Regions from separate parts of the Homo sapiens genome. Here region 2 is linked to region 1. The links are contacts of gene promoters, found by promoter capture Hi-C in blood cells and fetal thymus (Javierre and others, 2016). All regions are on one chromosome and are shown on one strand. Each heading gives the region's core, a stretch centred on a gene start or on the middle of the fragment in contact. The rest is flanking DNA. Distances are from core to core; before and after follow the strand shown.

Region 1 (7,624 bases), core at 2,814-5,313:
AAACTGATTACTATGCTCAGAAACGCTTGGTAATACAGGATAAAAATAAATACAACACACCCAAATAGAGGATGATAGTTCATATAACAAACAGAGATATCAATTGTCAGATTGCTTATGCCCGTATAGAGGGGGATATGATAGTCTGCGCAGCATATGCACACGAACTGCCAAAATATGGTGTGAAGGTTGGCCTGACAAATTATGCTGCAACATATTGTACTGGCCTGCTGCTGGCCCACAGGCTTCTCAATAGGTTTGGCATGGACAAGATCTATGAAGGCCAAGTGGAGGTGACTGGCGATAATACAATGTAGAAAGCATTGATGGTCAGCCAGGTGCTTTCACCTGCTATTTGGATGCAGGCCTTGCCAGAACTACCACTGGCAATAAAGTTTTTGGTGACCTGGATGGAGGCTTGTCTATCCCTCAAAGTACCAAATGATTCCCTGGTTATGATTCTGAAAGCAAGGAATTCAATGCAGAATTACACCAGAAGCACAACATAGGCCAGAATGTTGCAGATTACATGCACTACTTAATGGAAGATAAAGATGCTTACAAGAAACAGTTCTCTCAATACATAAAGAATAGCATAACTTCAGACATGATGAAGGAGATGAAAGCTCATGCTGCTATAGGAGAGAATCCAGTCTATGAAAAGAAGCTCAAGAAAGAAGTTAAAAAGAGGTGGAACCATCCCAAAATGTCCCTTGCTCAGAAGAAAGATCGCATAGCTCAAAAGAAGGCAAGCTTCCCCACGGCTCAGGAGGGGGCTGCAGAGAGCTAAACCAAACAATTTTCTACGAGGATTTTTCAGATAAAGACAATAAACTTATGGACAGAAAAAAAAAATTGTTCCCACTGCAGTTCAGCATAAAGCGGTGACCTGTAATTCTTGCCCACCTCCACACATATCCAGTTTGTTAATCTGGTGACAGATTGGATACACCCTGGGAGCTCGCTGACGGTATTCTGTCTATAATTTCAATGCAAAATGTAATTCAGAGTTGATGCTGATGAGAAGTGACAGTACAGCTAAGTCAAAAGCATAAACACTGGATAGTCTTTGGAACCTTGGATTTGCATTCTGTTATAGCACAAATAACCCTTTATATTTGGATTTGAACTTCTCTCTAAGCACATGACTGATGATGAATCTGAAAAGACATATTTATAAGTAAAGGAGCAGGCAAACACAGTTTATGGAGGGGATCATTTCAGGAAAGGCAAGTAGTTCCAGGTCATTGGCACTGTGAGGCAAAGCCTAAAAGGGAAGAAGAATCAGATGAAAGGCCTTTTGTATGCTATGATGTATTTGGGTTTTATCAAGGTAAAGAGAAAATATTATTTAATTATTTGACTGACAAGATCAGATAACTATTTTCAAAAGAATACTTTGGCCACAATCAACAGAAATGTCTACTGGGGTAGGGAGGAGCATGCAGGAGTGGTAGGGAATCACCTGCTTTTCCAGACTTATTTCCCACTCATACCATACCCGTTAAGCAAACTGAACATCTGACTTCCAGAAAACGTTATACCCTTCATGTCTCAATGCTTTGGCACATTTTATTTGTCTAGACTGCTGGCCCTCTCACTTATCCCGATGAGCTTCTTCAAACTAAACACCTCCTTTCTGAGACCTGCTGTGATCCAAATAGAATACAAAGTTGAATATCTCTGTAATTTTGAATCATCAAATGTATGGATGATAATACAATTATTTTACTTTACAGAGGAAGTCACAGAAGTAAGGAAAGGAGGGAGCACAATCAGCTCTGAACTGTGTGGAGTGGGAATGGAAGAAGGGAGCTGACTTGGGATAAAGACAGTATAGGGCTAAAAATGTGGAAAAAAGTCCAGTGATACACAGATTTGGAGTCACTGACATAAGTGGCATTTCAAAGTCAAGAATGGCAAGATTGCCAGGGAAACTACAGAAGTAAGAAAAGAGGGCTAAGGGCAGGCAGACTCCCCGGAACCACAGGTTAACTATCCCTTATCTGAAATGCCTGGGACCAGCATTGTTTCAGATTTTGAATTTTTTTCAGGGTTTGGAATATTTGCGTATACATAATAAGATATCTTAGGGATATGGGAGATACAAGTCTAAATACAAAATTCAGTCATATTTCTCACACACCTTACGCACATACCCTGAAGGTAATCTTATATAGTCGTTTTAATAATTTTGTGCATGAAACAAAGTTTTGACCATTTTGACTGCCACCTACTACATGAGATCGGATGTGGAATTTTCCACTTGTGTCATCATGTCGGCAATCATCCAGATTTTAGAGCATTTCAAATTTTCAGATTAGGGATGCTCAACCTATACCAACATTAAAAGGTAAGACAGAAGAAGAGATGAAAGACCAGAAAGAGTGCCATTACAGAAGTCAAGAGATATTCACAGCATGAGCCAGGGGTGAATGCCACAGAGAGTCCAATAAGATGAGACGTAGGTGAGCGGATTTTCAGAGCACTGGTAGGTCCAGGCAAGGACTGGGACTTCTTGAGTAAATGATTAGGTATTAAGAAGTCCAGGCAAGGAATGAAGATTTTTCAAGAAGATTCACCATAAAGTGAGAAAAGAGGGAAGGTGCTAGCTAGAGGGAAGTTAAGATTGTTTTGGTTTTGCTTTTAAGAGCTGAGGGACTTGCACATATTTATAGGCTAAGGAGAGCTGACACCGAGGCTGATGCCTGGAATCCCAGCACTCTGGGAGACCAAGGTGTGTGGACCATTTGAGTTTAGGAGTTGGAGATCAGCCTGGGCAACATAGCAAAACCCGGTCTCTACAAAAAAAAAAAGAAAAAAAAAGAAAGAAAAAAAAATTAGCTGGGTGTGGTGGCGTGCGCCTGTAGTAGTCCCAGCCACTCAGGAGGCTGAGATGGGAAGATCACTTGAGGCTGGAAGGTTGAAGCTGCAATGAGCCATGATCATACCACAGCGAGACCCCGTCTCAAATAAAAATAAATAAATAAATAAATATAGGCTAAGGAGTAGAAGCAGGTGGATGTGGAAAGAATGAATAGGATAAGGCCCCTGGTGAGATGAACAAGGACAGGATCCCATGAACAAGGAACAAGGATCAGGATCAGGATCCCACAGGATCAACTTTAGACCAACCAAAAGAAAAAATGTGATTCCTTGAACCACATATATTTCACAGTATGGACTTCATCCGCTGTCTTTCATTACGGTTAAAATTACACCGCATTTCTAGTAATTCATGTTTGATGATGACAAAATACGTATCAGGCTACAGCTATCTGCAATCAGAATTGGGAACTTATCTGAACTGATCCTATAACGCACTGCCCACATTCTTCAAGAAATAGTAAGGTACCAGCCTCGATTCTTGCTTTTTCCCGCTCTTGCAGATGGACCAAATATCCACTGGGCCCTCAGTCCTGTTAATTGCCACACTAAACAGGGTATCCCAGAACGTATGCTACCCGAGAATGCTGCACTGTCCCACCTGTAAGCATTGTACTTGTGGATAGCTTGGCTCACGTTCTTCTCAAAGTTTGCGAGTTCTGAAAGGCAACAGAAGGCTCGGGTGAACAAGAACCACGAGTAAACAAACGAGAACTGTTTTCTGGAAGGGGATATGGCAGCCTCTAAGAGACAGTGACCACCCGTTTCCTCCAAGGGCCAGACCAAAAGCAGCCCAAGCGATGGCCCAGGTGTAGCCGGCAGGACTGACAACCAGCCAGGGGCGCCGGAGGGAGATCCCCACGGAAGACGACCCGCTGCAAGGAACCTACCCTACCCACTGGACTGTCGGTGTGGGAGAGAAGGAAGGCAGGGGAAGAGGCTGGAAGGAAAGAAGAAAGCCAGCGGGGCCCGGCCCGGTGCTAACCTGTGAGCATGTCGGTGATTCCCCCGTTGAGAGTCTCCTGCGGCGCCTTCCGTTTGCTCATGGCGGCCTGCACCCGAGAACCCCAGAGTGTTCAGAACCAGGGACTAGAGCCCTCTCCCAGCTTGAAGGAGGTACCAGGACTTGGAGACGGGAGCAGGAGCAACCCAGCTCCGGCGCGACCGGCGGAACAATGGTTGCCCCCGATGGGGGGCGGGGCGCACGGCGCTTGTTGTGACGTCACGCGTCCTGGGCGGGGCGGGGCGGGGCTAGAGGGGCGAGCCCTCGGCAGGTGAGGAGAGAGAACTCGGAGGGTTCGTGGACTCGTGGACGTGGACACGGCGCGGGGGAAATAGGCACCTCAGAATGACAGCCCAGGGGCCTTCCTATGGGAAGACCTGGAGTTTTGACCTAAGATATTAAATCTGTTTTCTCAGTGTTTATCTGGAATCCTTTCCCTAGAAGGGGAAACGGGAGTGCGATCTTGATTCTGAAATACTTGCGCTGGTGGGGTAGCTTCCTGCACAAAAATGTGCACTGTAATAGCTACCCAATGCATGGCGCGTTTTGTACGTGGTTAGAGGCGACACTGGCGTCACACTGTCAAAACTTTCTCTAAGGATACCGGGCAGTCCACACTCCAGTGCAGCCCCTTACGTACTAGGGCGCTGCCGGAGCCCGGCGTGAACCATGCCGAGAACAGGAATCCTCCCGCACACGTGTTAGTACACCTGCCAACCAGTGTCAAAAGATATTTTATTTTTAATCCCCCTGCCTTTGCGGTAGGGACCAAATTAATGAAGAGACCACAAGAAAGGGAGAAGTGTTTCATCTAGATCATGAGCAATGGAACCCTAATTATAACATGATGACCTACATCTGAGAAATTTACAGTCTGCTTGAGAAATGGAAATGTCACATCAGCAATAGTTTATTTTACAAGCGTAACTCCTGGGTTCATATCGAACTGCAATTCCAGGCAATTGCTTTGTGCATCGAAAAATTAAAATTTATTACAAAATGATACGTAGTTGCTGTAGAGAAATCTGGAAAAATGTATAAAAGGAGAAAATTAAAATCAGTGATCTCACCCTACAGCTGAACTATTAATATTTTGGGACGTACACTTCTAGTCTTCTAACCCAGTCTATTAAAAATTCCCATTATTTTCCAATAAATATCATTAGTTTCTTTGATTAGCAAGGTTGTGGTGATTGTGTTTCCTTACAATATCAGTGTATATCTTAAGTTATGCTTATTGGAAATCTGTAATTCTTCTTTTTTTGAATTTCCTATTCATATCATTTACCATTTTCCTAATGGGGGTAGTTTGTTACTAATCTGGTAGATCTTTTCTATATATTACTACTTGCCCTTTTATGGATAGCTTTTGTAAAAATTTTGTACATATTTGTATTTTCCTCAATTTATTACTTGAGGAATAAAAGTTAAAAAAACTTTATGCCTGCAACTTAACTATCTGATTAGTTAAGCTGCAGTGAGCAGTGACCACTCTCATTTACTCTTTATACTCTCATTTACATATATGACTTGTCCTAGTTTTCCCTGTTCACACTTTTTTCTGTCCAATCTCTATTCCAGGTGATATTCAGATTATTTTGCTCTGAAGAATTATTCCTCCTTAAATAAAAATGTATTTACCTCTGAATTTTAAAAGTTACAAATGTAGGGAATTGTGGGATCAGTTTTACAAATTTTTTTGTTTTGAGACAGAGTTTCACTCTTGTCCCGCAGGCCAGAGTGCAATGGCACGATCTCGGCTCACTGCAACCTCTGCCTCCCGGGTTCAAGTGATTCTCCTGCCTCAGCCTCCCGAGTAGCTGGGATTACAGGATCCTGCCACCATGCCCAGCTAATTTTTGTATTTTTAGTAGAGATGGGGTTTCACCATGTTGGCCAGGCTGGTCTCAAACCCCTGACCTCAAGTGATCCACCCGCCTTGGCCTATTAAAGTGCTAGATTACAGGCGTGAGCCACTGCACCTAGCCCATTTTTACAAATACTATATTTTTAAAATTAGTGCCAGAGAAACCAAGGAAAATAATCCATTATCTGTCCTTATCGTCTTAGAACAACCGACATTTGATCTGCTTCACAAAGTTCTTCTTGAAATAACTTGCTTCAATTGGCTTCTAAGATTCCACATGCTCTGGGCTTCCTTTTTCCTCACTGGCCAGTCCTCAGCAGGGTGTGTGTGTGCGCACATGTGCGCCTGAGCACTGGTTCCCAGCTCCTCCTCCACTCTCCAGCCTTTATGGGAAATGGCTTCACACTTCAGTCTTCTAACCAGCTTTTCCAACTTGTCCAGTTTTACCTGTTTAAATGGCATGTCTAGCTTGAAAGTCTCCTAAACTCATAGTTCAAGTCTTGACCTCTCCCTTGAGTTCCAGTCTCATACATCAGGCTGTCTACTGGATAGCTCTAGTCCATAATAGGCATCTCAAAGATAAAATGTCCTAAAGAACTCCTGACTCTTGCCCCACCAGCTTCTCCTTAACTTTCCCCCATCTCAGTTAATAGCATTTTAATCCACCCTGCTATCAGGCCAAACCCATAAGAGTCATTTTTAATTGCTCTTTTCACACCCCACATCCCGTCTGCCAGCAGACCTTGTCTGTTCTGTCTCAGGAATATGTGCTGAACTGGATGACCTCTCATCCCGAGCTGCCACTGCCCTAGATCAAACTCCCATGACCTCCTGAACTGTTACCAAAGCCTCCTCAGTGGGCTTCCTGCTTCTGCTCTTGTCCTCTTATAGAATATTCCCCAAACAGAGGGTGATCTTTTTAGGATGTAGTATCAAAATATGTCCCTATTTATACACCCTCCCACTGCACTTAGGATAAAATCCAAGCTCCTGGCGGGGCGCAGTGGCTCACACCTGTAATTCCAGCACTTTGGGAGGCTGAGGCAGGCGGATCACCTGAGGTCAGGAGTTCAAGGTCAGCCTGGCCAACATGGTGAAACCCCATTTCTACTAAAAATACAAAAATTAGCCAGGCGTGGTGGTGGGCGCCTGTAATCCCAGCTACTTGGGAAGTTGAGGCAGGGAGGTTGAACCCTGGAGGTGGAGGTTGCAGTGAGCCAAGATCGGGCCACTGCACTCCAGCCTGGGCAACAAGAGTGAGTCTCCAAAAAAAAAAAAAAAAAAAAAAAAAAATCCAAGCTCCTTTTCATGGCCCACAAGGCCTTATGTGATCCACCTCCTGCCTGCTCTCCTACTGCATTTCTTGCCACTTTTCTCATTGTTTAGGACACACACACGCCCATATTTCATACATACATGTGCCTGCTCAGCATTGTCCCCTCATTGTATGGTTCTTTCCCTGGCTGCCTTCTTCTCATCATTCAGGTCCCAGCCTGGCAGTCACACCCTTGTCACGTTCCTGGACCAGGCCCAGGTTTTTACTTGTGTGTTTCCTTCACAGTACTAAGAAGGACTGGAAATATTCACACGTGGTTGCACATTATGCACTCCCTGCTCACTCCTCCTCCCACCAATGTGCAATGCCAGCTCCACGGGAGAAGGGACTTAATTTTTGTTTCCACGTAAGTACTCAATAAAGTTAATAACTTAAATTGCAGTTTTGCTGAAGTGTCAAACACGGCCACCTGTAATCCCAGCACTCTGGGAGGTGGAGGCAGGAGGATCGAGCCCAGGAGTTCAAGACCAGACTGGGCAACATGGCGAGACCCCATCTCTTTTACAAAAATAAGAAAAATGTACTGGGTGTG
Region 2 (7,624 bases), core at 1,986-4,485, 300 kb after region 1:
CCTCCTGGGTTCAGGCGATTCTCCTGCCTCAGCCTCCCGAGTAGCTGGGTTTACATGCACCCGCCACCACGCCTGGCTAATTTTTTGTATTTTTAGTAGAGACAGGGTTTTGCCACGTTGGCCAGGCTGGTCTCGAACTCCTGACCTCAGGTGATCCACCCGCCTTGGCCTCCCAAAGTGCTGGGATTACAGGTGTGAGCCACCATGCCCAGCCACCAATTTTTCTTATGCTTACAACCTAGACATTTTTCTAGCGAATAAGTACTTTACTCTTTCTTGGTCTACCTTCCAATTGGTGAAATAAAGGGAAGGAATTAATGAAGACATCGGGTACCACAAATGGCTTCAGGAATAGAAATCCAGAGGTTCTAATGGTCTTAACCTCGTTTTTTCTTTGCTCTGTATCAATAGGCTAAGGGAACGTAAAGAGTTGCTTATAGAAACCTATTAATAGCTAACATTTGTTAAGGGCTGATGATGTGTTAGGGACTTTTTTTTTTAAGTGTTTTAACATGTACTTTCTTATTGAAGTCTCAAAAGAATTCTATATGATTAAATTTTATAGGCATAATATATTTATATAATAGGTATTTAATAGTATTTAATCATACAAATTTTCGGCAGGGCGCGGTGGCTCACGCCTATAATCCCAGCACTTTGGGAAGCCGAGGCAGGCGGATCTCGAGGTCAGGAGATCGAGACCATCCTGGCTAACGTGGTGAAAGCCCGTCTCCACTAAAAAATACAAAAGAAAAAAAAAAAATATTAGCCAGGCATTGTGGTGGGCGCCTGTAGTCCCAGCTACTTGGGAGGCTAAGGCAGGAGAATGGCGTGAACCCGGGAGGTGGAGCTTGCAGTGAGCCGAGATTGCGCTACTGCACTCCAGCCTGGGTGACAGAGTGAGACTCCGTCTCAAAAAAAAACAAAAATTAATAATAATAATACAAGTTTTCATTATGTCTTATAGAAAACCAAATGGAAAATGAATATAAGGAAATGCAAAATACATTAAATTTCTTTTTACCCTTGCTGCCTGTTTTTTCTTTAGTTCATCCTGGACTTGTGGGCCAATACTTTTTTGTTATGTTTAATACTAGGAGAGCAAATACATAACAGGAACTGTGATGAATCTGGAAAGAAAATTTATATCATTCAGTCTTCCTGAAGCTGTAAGAATCTCCTTAACATCTATTAGATTTATTTTCTCTTTGCATTTAAAGTTTTGGAGAAAATATCTTTGTCATACTGACTTGGTTCTTAGCTATGTAAGAGGACTAAATCTAGGTGCGGAGTTTGCTGGTTTAAATAGAATTAAAAATTTATTTTTTTCTGGTGACCTGGAGAGTGTTTCTTAAAATTATAATAATGAATACTTTTCATGCTCTGATTTATGTATAGGAATTATTAAGAGCTTCACTCTGATAAAGTTATTTACCACTTGGCTACTCAGGGGTGGAGTCATTTCACAAAGGATCTGCAGCGAATGAATTAGACCAGGAGTAACTTCACCCTTCTGCTTGTCCCAGCTGGAGCAGGATTAGGACTCATTCAGCTGCAGCTGGTTCCCAGGAAAATGAAAGCAGTTCCTTCTGGTTTTTTCCTTTCATATGAAAGTCATAGTTCCCAGCAGATGGCTTTCATCAGCCCTGTACATGTATCTGTAAATTCAAGGCCAAGGAATTATTTTCAACTTCATTAGGGAACAGGTGAAGAAACCATTTGTAGTGTGGCACTATTTTATTAGGAGTTGAAATTAAGCATAGAGATTATAGTAGTATGCCATTCTGGGTCAAAATAGTTTTTAACTGTCAGCAATTTAAAGAAAAAAAAAGACTGCTAAGGAAAAGTAAGTCTGGCTGTAGTGTTGATTGAGGTATCTTTTATGGTTGAATTGTATTATGCTTACGAAACATAGATTATTAGAAAAAAAGACTTGTATCTTCTGCATTGTGTAGAATGTTCAGCCAGTAGCAATCTTGGATCACAGTGATTCTAATCTGATTTCACAAATAATAGGGAAATTTGAGAGCCAAAGAGGTTGAAGTGTCTTGTCCAGTGCCACACAGCCAGTTAATACCATCTGGAAGAATTGGTCAGGCCCTTCTCAATTTTGTGCTTTTTTCATTATGCTGTAGTACTGCTTTATAGTATTAGAGAGCAGTGAGCCTAAAATAATTTAGTTAGAATTCTCTTCCTTAATGGAAACCATAGAATAAACCTTGTCTAGAGAATATTGGTGGTATCGTAAACCACAAATATATAAATCTGCTATTTCAGTGTGTGAAAATAGCTATACACTCTTGTTAGAGTTTTGAAACAACTTTTTGGGAAAAGACTGCTTTCTTATGGCCCAAGTTAGAGGAATCAAGGTTTTCTTATGTTGTTGGCTAAATATTAGAAGGGGAACATGTTGAGCTACCTTAATGCTGGAAGAAAAAGTACTCCTTGAGTTTTGGGAAAAAAAGTCCATTTAAAGGTAAGTCTAATTTTCAGTAGGTCTGCAACACAAATGACCTCTGAGTGACTTGGATCATTGGTTAGAATTTAAAATTCTTGAGACTGAGCTAGAGATAGCAAGGTACAAACCTTTCTATTAATTAATGAAGTAATTTTTACCAAAGACATTAAATATGGGTGGACCAAAAGTGTATAGTCTAGCACTTCTATAAACATAGTGTCTGGGAGGAGCTTGAGAGATTTGTAATGTTACTTGTAAACAGACCGTGTGGGGAAGACCGCAGACAGCACATCATTTTTTGTCTTTATTGGTCTTTATGACTAACACTTCATCTCTGCATCACTTCTGCTTTGCTGTAAAACTTAGCAAGTACATTAGGATAGTGGCAAATAAAGATTAAGATTGAGGACAGATGTTTGTAAAATAACTGGGCGATTTTAAGATTATAGGTGTAACTTGTTAAGAAGAAGATAACTGGTGTGGAAATAAAATCTGGCAGCCAAAAAAAAAAAAAAAGCTTTCAATGTGTTAAAGAAGATAGTTGCTTCTTTTGCCGTTTACCTTTTATGTAGAATAGGTGATTCCGCAGATCTAGAGGTGTTGTCAGACTTGTACTATGGGCTGCGTTTTCCTCCAGGGAATTGTGAACTGTAGTTGACCTGAAGAGCTGCTAAGTGTTGGTTTTTAATTCTTTGAGCTTAGTAAAGTCTAGGTTCCTTTTTTCTTAGTCATTGGGTACAGTGAAGCATTTAACTCCTGAGTTTTCTAGAACCTTTAACAGAACTCTCAGAAACATTATTACTATTTTTGTGTGTGGAGTGTGATTCTGTACTTTAATAGTTTCCCAATTTTTCTATTCAGGGCATCTTTAAATATCTAACTTACTATTTAAACCCTCTTTCACCATTTTCCTGCCTTACTTTTTTCCATGCCACTCAGTTTTTCTTTAATTCTGTAACATAAATCCAAAGCCTTATTCTTTGGAAAGCAGTGGTACTTGGCACTAAATTCACTTTAGCATTACCTGAGGAAGCTTAAAAAATAAATACCAAACTAATTAAATTTGACTAGTAGTGAGGCCCAGGTTTCAGTTTTTTTTATTTTTTATTTTTTTAAGAATGTTTATCTGATGTGCAGCTGGGGTTGAGAACCATTGCTCTAATGCTTAGAACCAACATCTCTGTAGTGGGGACTGGCTAAGAGAGTCAGAAGACAGAAGAAGCAGGTACTTTTTAACCTCATAATTGACATTCAAACAAATGATGAAATAGCATGCTTCACACACACCCTCATGAACACACTTTGGACCCAGGACAGTGTACTTCTGGAAATGTACATTCTGTTTTATTGTCCTCCCTGGCTATAACTACTCTAATCTTCCACCTTTCTTTCTCCTTACCCTCACTGCTTTATCTCAAGAAGATCTTGTGTGGTATATAGTTGCGAGAAAGTTACCTGCATGATTCCGACAGGTGCCCTGCCATCACTCTAATGCTGTTCTCATTGCTTGGCCTTATGGCACATTCTCACTCACTCACTACTCCTGCATCATGTTGGCAAACTCCAGCCATTTACCACCTTCTCCTTTTTTTTTTGAGTTGGAGTCTTGCTCTGTCACCCAGGCTGGAGTGCAGTGGTGCGATCTCTGCTCACTGCAACCTCCATCTCCTGGGTTCAAGCGATTCTTCTGCCTCAGCCTCCCAAGCAGCTGGGATTACAGGTGCCTGCTACCACCCCTGGCTAATTTTTGTATTTTTTTAGTGGAGACGGGGTTTCATCATGTTGGCTAGGCTGGTCTTGAACTCCTGACCTCAGGTGATCTGCCCACCTTGGCCTCCCAAAGTGCTGGGATTACAGGCATGAGCCATCGTGCCCAACCTCTCTGCTTTAACTTTGGGGAAAATCTCATGACCATGTGGTGGGATGCCACTTACAAATTTGTGGCCTCCAATCTGAGCTCTGCCCTCTGCTTGAAGATGTATGTCTGTGTATAGTCTGTTCTGTCTGCAGAAATTCAGTATTTCTTCCCACCTTTTTTTCTCATTTTCAGTAGATACTCCCATATGCTACATCATAGAGATAATGGAATCTGTCCAATTGAGCTCATTGAGTTTATACCCCTCTCATGCCATCCTAAATACATCTGTGCTTATTTCTGCCCGCTTTGCTACCTTGTCATAGGACAGTGAAAGAAGTGTGAAAGGCTCATCTCTCCATTCTTTTTCAGGACCCCATTCTCTGCTACCTCAGGGGCCGTGTGCCATCAAAAATAGTCCCATTTTTTGACTCTATCATCTTTCTCGCTCACTTTTTAGTCCTTAGCAGGCAGAAGACTCTCCCGTTAGAGTAAAAACAACCAAAAAACCACTGCAGATCCTTCTTTCTATGTATACCCTGTCTGTTTCCATTCATTTTTAAACTTCTTGAAAAAAGTCTATATTCATTCCACGTCTGCTGCAATCTGGCTTTTGGCCCTAGAGCAGCACTATTTGAAACTGCTCTTGTGGACAGTTTTCAGTCTTATTTTACCTGAGTTCTCAGCTGCATTTAGCATTTGTTGACCATTCTTCCCTTTCCTCTGGGATAATTCTTAGATGTCTCCCCCTTCCTCCCATCTTTCTGGTAATTCCTTTTCAGTTTATTGGCGTTTTATCTTTTGCCTGTATCTAGATGTTGGATTCCCTAAGGTTCTGTTCTTCACTCATTTCTTACTGTTTTCTAGAGAGTTATCTAGAGATAACTTTCCTGAGTTATTTCTAGACCTCTGTGTTCTTTACTGATGACTCTAATTTCATATCTTAATTTGAGAGCTCTCTTCTGATCTCTGGACTTGTATATTCCATTGTGTAGTATTTTATGTCAGTCTCTTCAGATTCACAATGGCTCAGATGGAATTTATCAACTTCCTTTAACCGGCTGTCATTTCTTACAGTGGTAAGAGCCATTGCCATCGATTCTGATGCTTAAAATGGAAACTTTGGTGTCATCTTCCATACCTCACTTGTCTGTCTTTTGGATTCAGTTCTATTCCATCCCATGTCTTCTCTCTTACACTTTTTAACATCTCTTATTTAACCTCTTCTGTATTCGAGGTCCTCTGTTAGAGCAGGTCCTCATCATTTCTCTCCTGATTACCTTAGTAGTTTCTTCATTGATTTTCCTTCCTCCAGTATCATCTTCGTCTAGTCCACATTATTGCCAAAATGATCTTACTAAGAAATGATTAAGAACACAAGCGCAAAGACCAGACCATCTGGGCTTTCTATCCCACACTGGGACTACTTGCTTTATGACCTTGGGTAATTTGCTTAACCATTCTTTGCCACATTTTCTTCTATAAAATGGGGATAATACAGTGCTTATCTCATAGTGAAGTTGTGAGAATTTAATGAGTTAATATACATCTGGGCTGACAGAACTTTGTGCAATGATGGAAATGTTCTATATCTGTACTGCCCTCTGTGATAGCCAGAGCCATGTGTAGCTATTGAGCTCTTGCAATATGGCCAGTTGAGTGAGGAGCTGAATTTTAAATTTTATTTAGTTATAATTTAATTGAAATAGCCACATGTGGCTAGTAGCTGCTATAATGGACAGTACAGAATATGTAAAGTCCTTAGAAATAGTGTTTAGCACATAAGTGCTCCATAAATGTTAACTGTTATTACCATCTTTCTAAAATTAAACTTCTCTGCTTAAAATCCTTCAGTACCAAATTCTGCGATATAGTATATATGAGTTGTAACCCATTCCCGTGCGTTGCTCCAAACTTGTCAATTGCCACTTCTTCATAATGCCCTCTGTGTTCCACTGTACCAGTTCTCAAAGTGTGGATGTAGAGGACAGCACCAGCAATAGTATCCCCCAAAAACTTGTTTAAAATGCAGATTCTTGAGCCATATTTCAGGCCTATTCAATCAGAAACTGAATTTGGGGCTTTGCAACCCGTATGTTAGTAAGTCCTCCAGGCGATTCTGATGCACGCTTGAGTTCGAGAGCCATTGTACTGCATCAGTCTCCCTGCAGTTCCTCAGATCTATCTTGTTTTCCCTTGCCCCTATATTTTTCTCCTGTCTGGAATGATTGTTATCCATTTTTTCTTCCTCATAAATTAGCTCTTCAACCTTGCAGACTTAGTTTAGTCAAGTTTCTTTCTGTTTCTTCCTCCTTATCACCCACCCTGCTCCCAGGCTGACTTCAAGACCTGTCTTAATCTCCATGCTGCATATGTCCGTACACACTTGCATCATAGACCATTTTACATAGTACTTTTTTAGCCTGTCTCCTATTAGTGAATTTAGGTTCTTGTTTTTCGTCTTTGTATTTCCATCTATCTGGCAGTATCTGATTGTTTTGTTTATTTTTAATTTTTTTAATTAAAAAATTTTTAACTGTTTTGTTTGGGTTGTTTCATATGTATTAAGCATCTTCCAGGGGCCGGCACAGTGATTAGGAGTGACAGAGTAGGTAAAGCAGACATCGTCTCTGTAATAAATACACATGGTGATAAGTGCTCTGATGAAGTAAAATAGAGCACTGTGGAAACACAGAGGAGGGGGTGGAAAAAGTCAGGGAAGTCTGTTCAGAGGAAGTCACATGTGAAGTTAGTGAAGTGGGGAAGCAAATGGGTGCGGTGGGAAAGAGAGTAGTTCCTGAAAAGGGAACAGCATGTACAAAGGCCTAGAAGCAAAACATTGTATGCACATAGTAACTGTTTAATTGGATATGAATTTTAAAAATCACATGTCTAACTTAGCTCTCGGTTTCGAAGACATCACCCTTCCCAGCAAACATTGCATTTTATATGCTTCTGTATTTTTAAAGCAGTTTTCATACTTGATATCACACTTTGAGTAGATGGTTATGGTGTGATAGGGTAACTTCCAAGCCAGCAGGATACATCTTTTTACTTACTGCCTTTTAAAGCAGAAAAAAGGATTTGTTTTGTCTGAAAATTATTCCACAGGGCCAGGAACACATCAGTGGTGACAGAGGTAAACACATTACTCTTATTGAGTAAGAATAGCCAAGGTTTGGCCAGGCACAGTGGCTCACGCCTGTAATCCCAGCACTTTGGGAGGCCGAGACAGGCAGATCATGAGGTCAGGAGTTCGAGACCACCCTGGCCAACATGGTGAACGTCTCTACTAAAAATACAAAAATTAG

Evidence for each region. The method cuts DNA at HindIII sites, captures the fragments that hold promoters and counts their contacts. A CHiCAGO score of 5 or more calls a contact.
Region 2: a fragment that was not itself captured here is called in contact with the fragment with the promoter of POLB in region 1 in 5 of 17 cell types (activated CD4 T cells, naive CD4 T cells, total CD8 T cells and 2 more); the score reaches 7.6 in activated CD4 T cells.

What each region holds. Positions count from the first base shown.
Region 1 is chr8:42,334,933-42,342,556 of GRCh38, reverse strand. POLB (DNA polymerase beta) reads right to left here and starts at 4,063. Exons shown (of 14, transcript NM_002690.3): 1 at 3,872-4,063; 2 at 3,488-3,545. The coding sequence starts at 3,932. It also overlaps the pseudogene RPL5P23. The HindIII fragment of the contact is 11,887 bases long and covers 756-7,624 here.
Region 2 is chr8:42,033,042-42,040,665 of GRCh38, reverse strand. All of the region lies in intron 2 of KAT6A (lysine acetyltransferase 6A), which reads left to right. Among named protein-coding and RNA genes, the nearest start is that of KAT6A-AS1, 15 kb to the left of the region's middle. The HindIII fragment of the contact is 516 bases long and covers 2,978-3,493 here.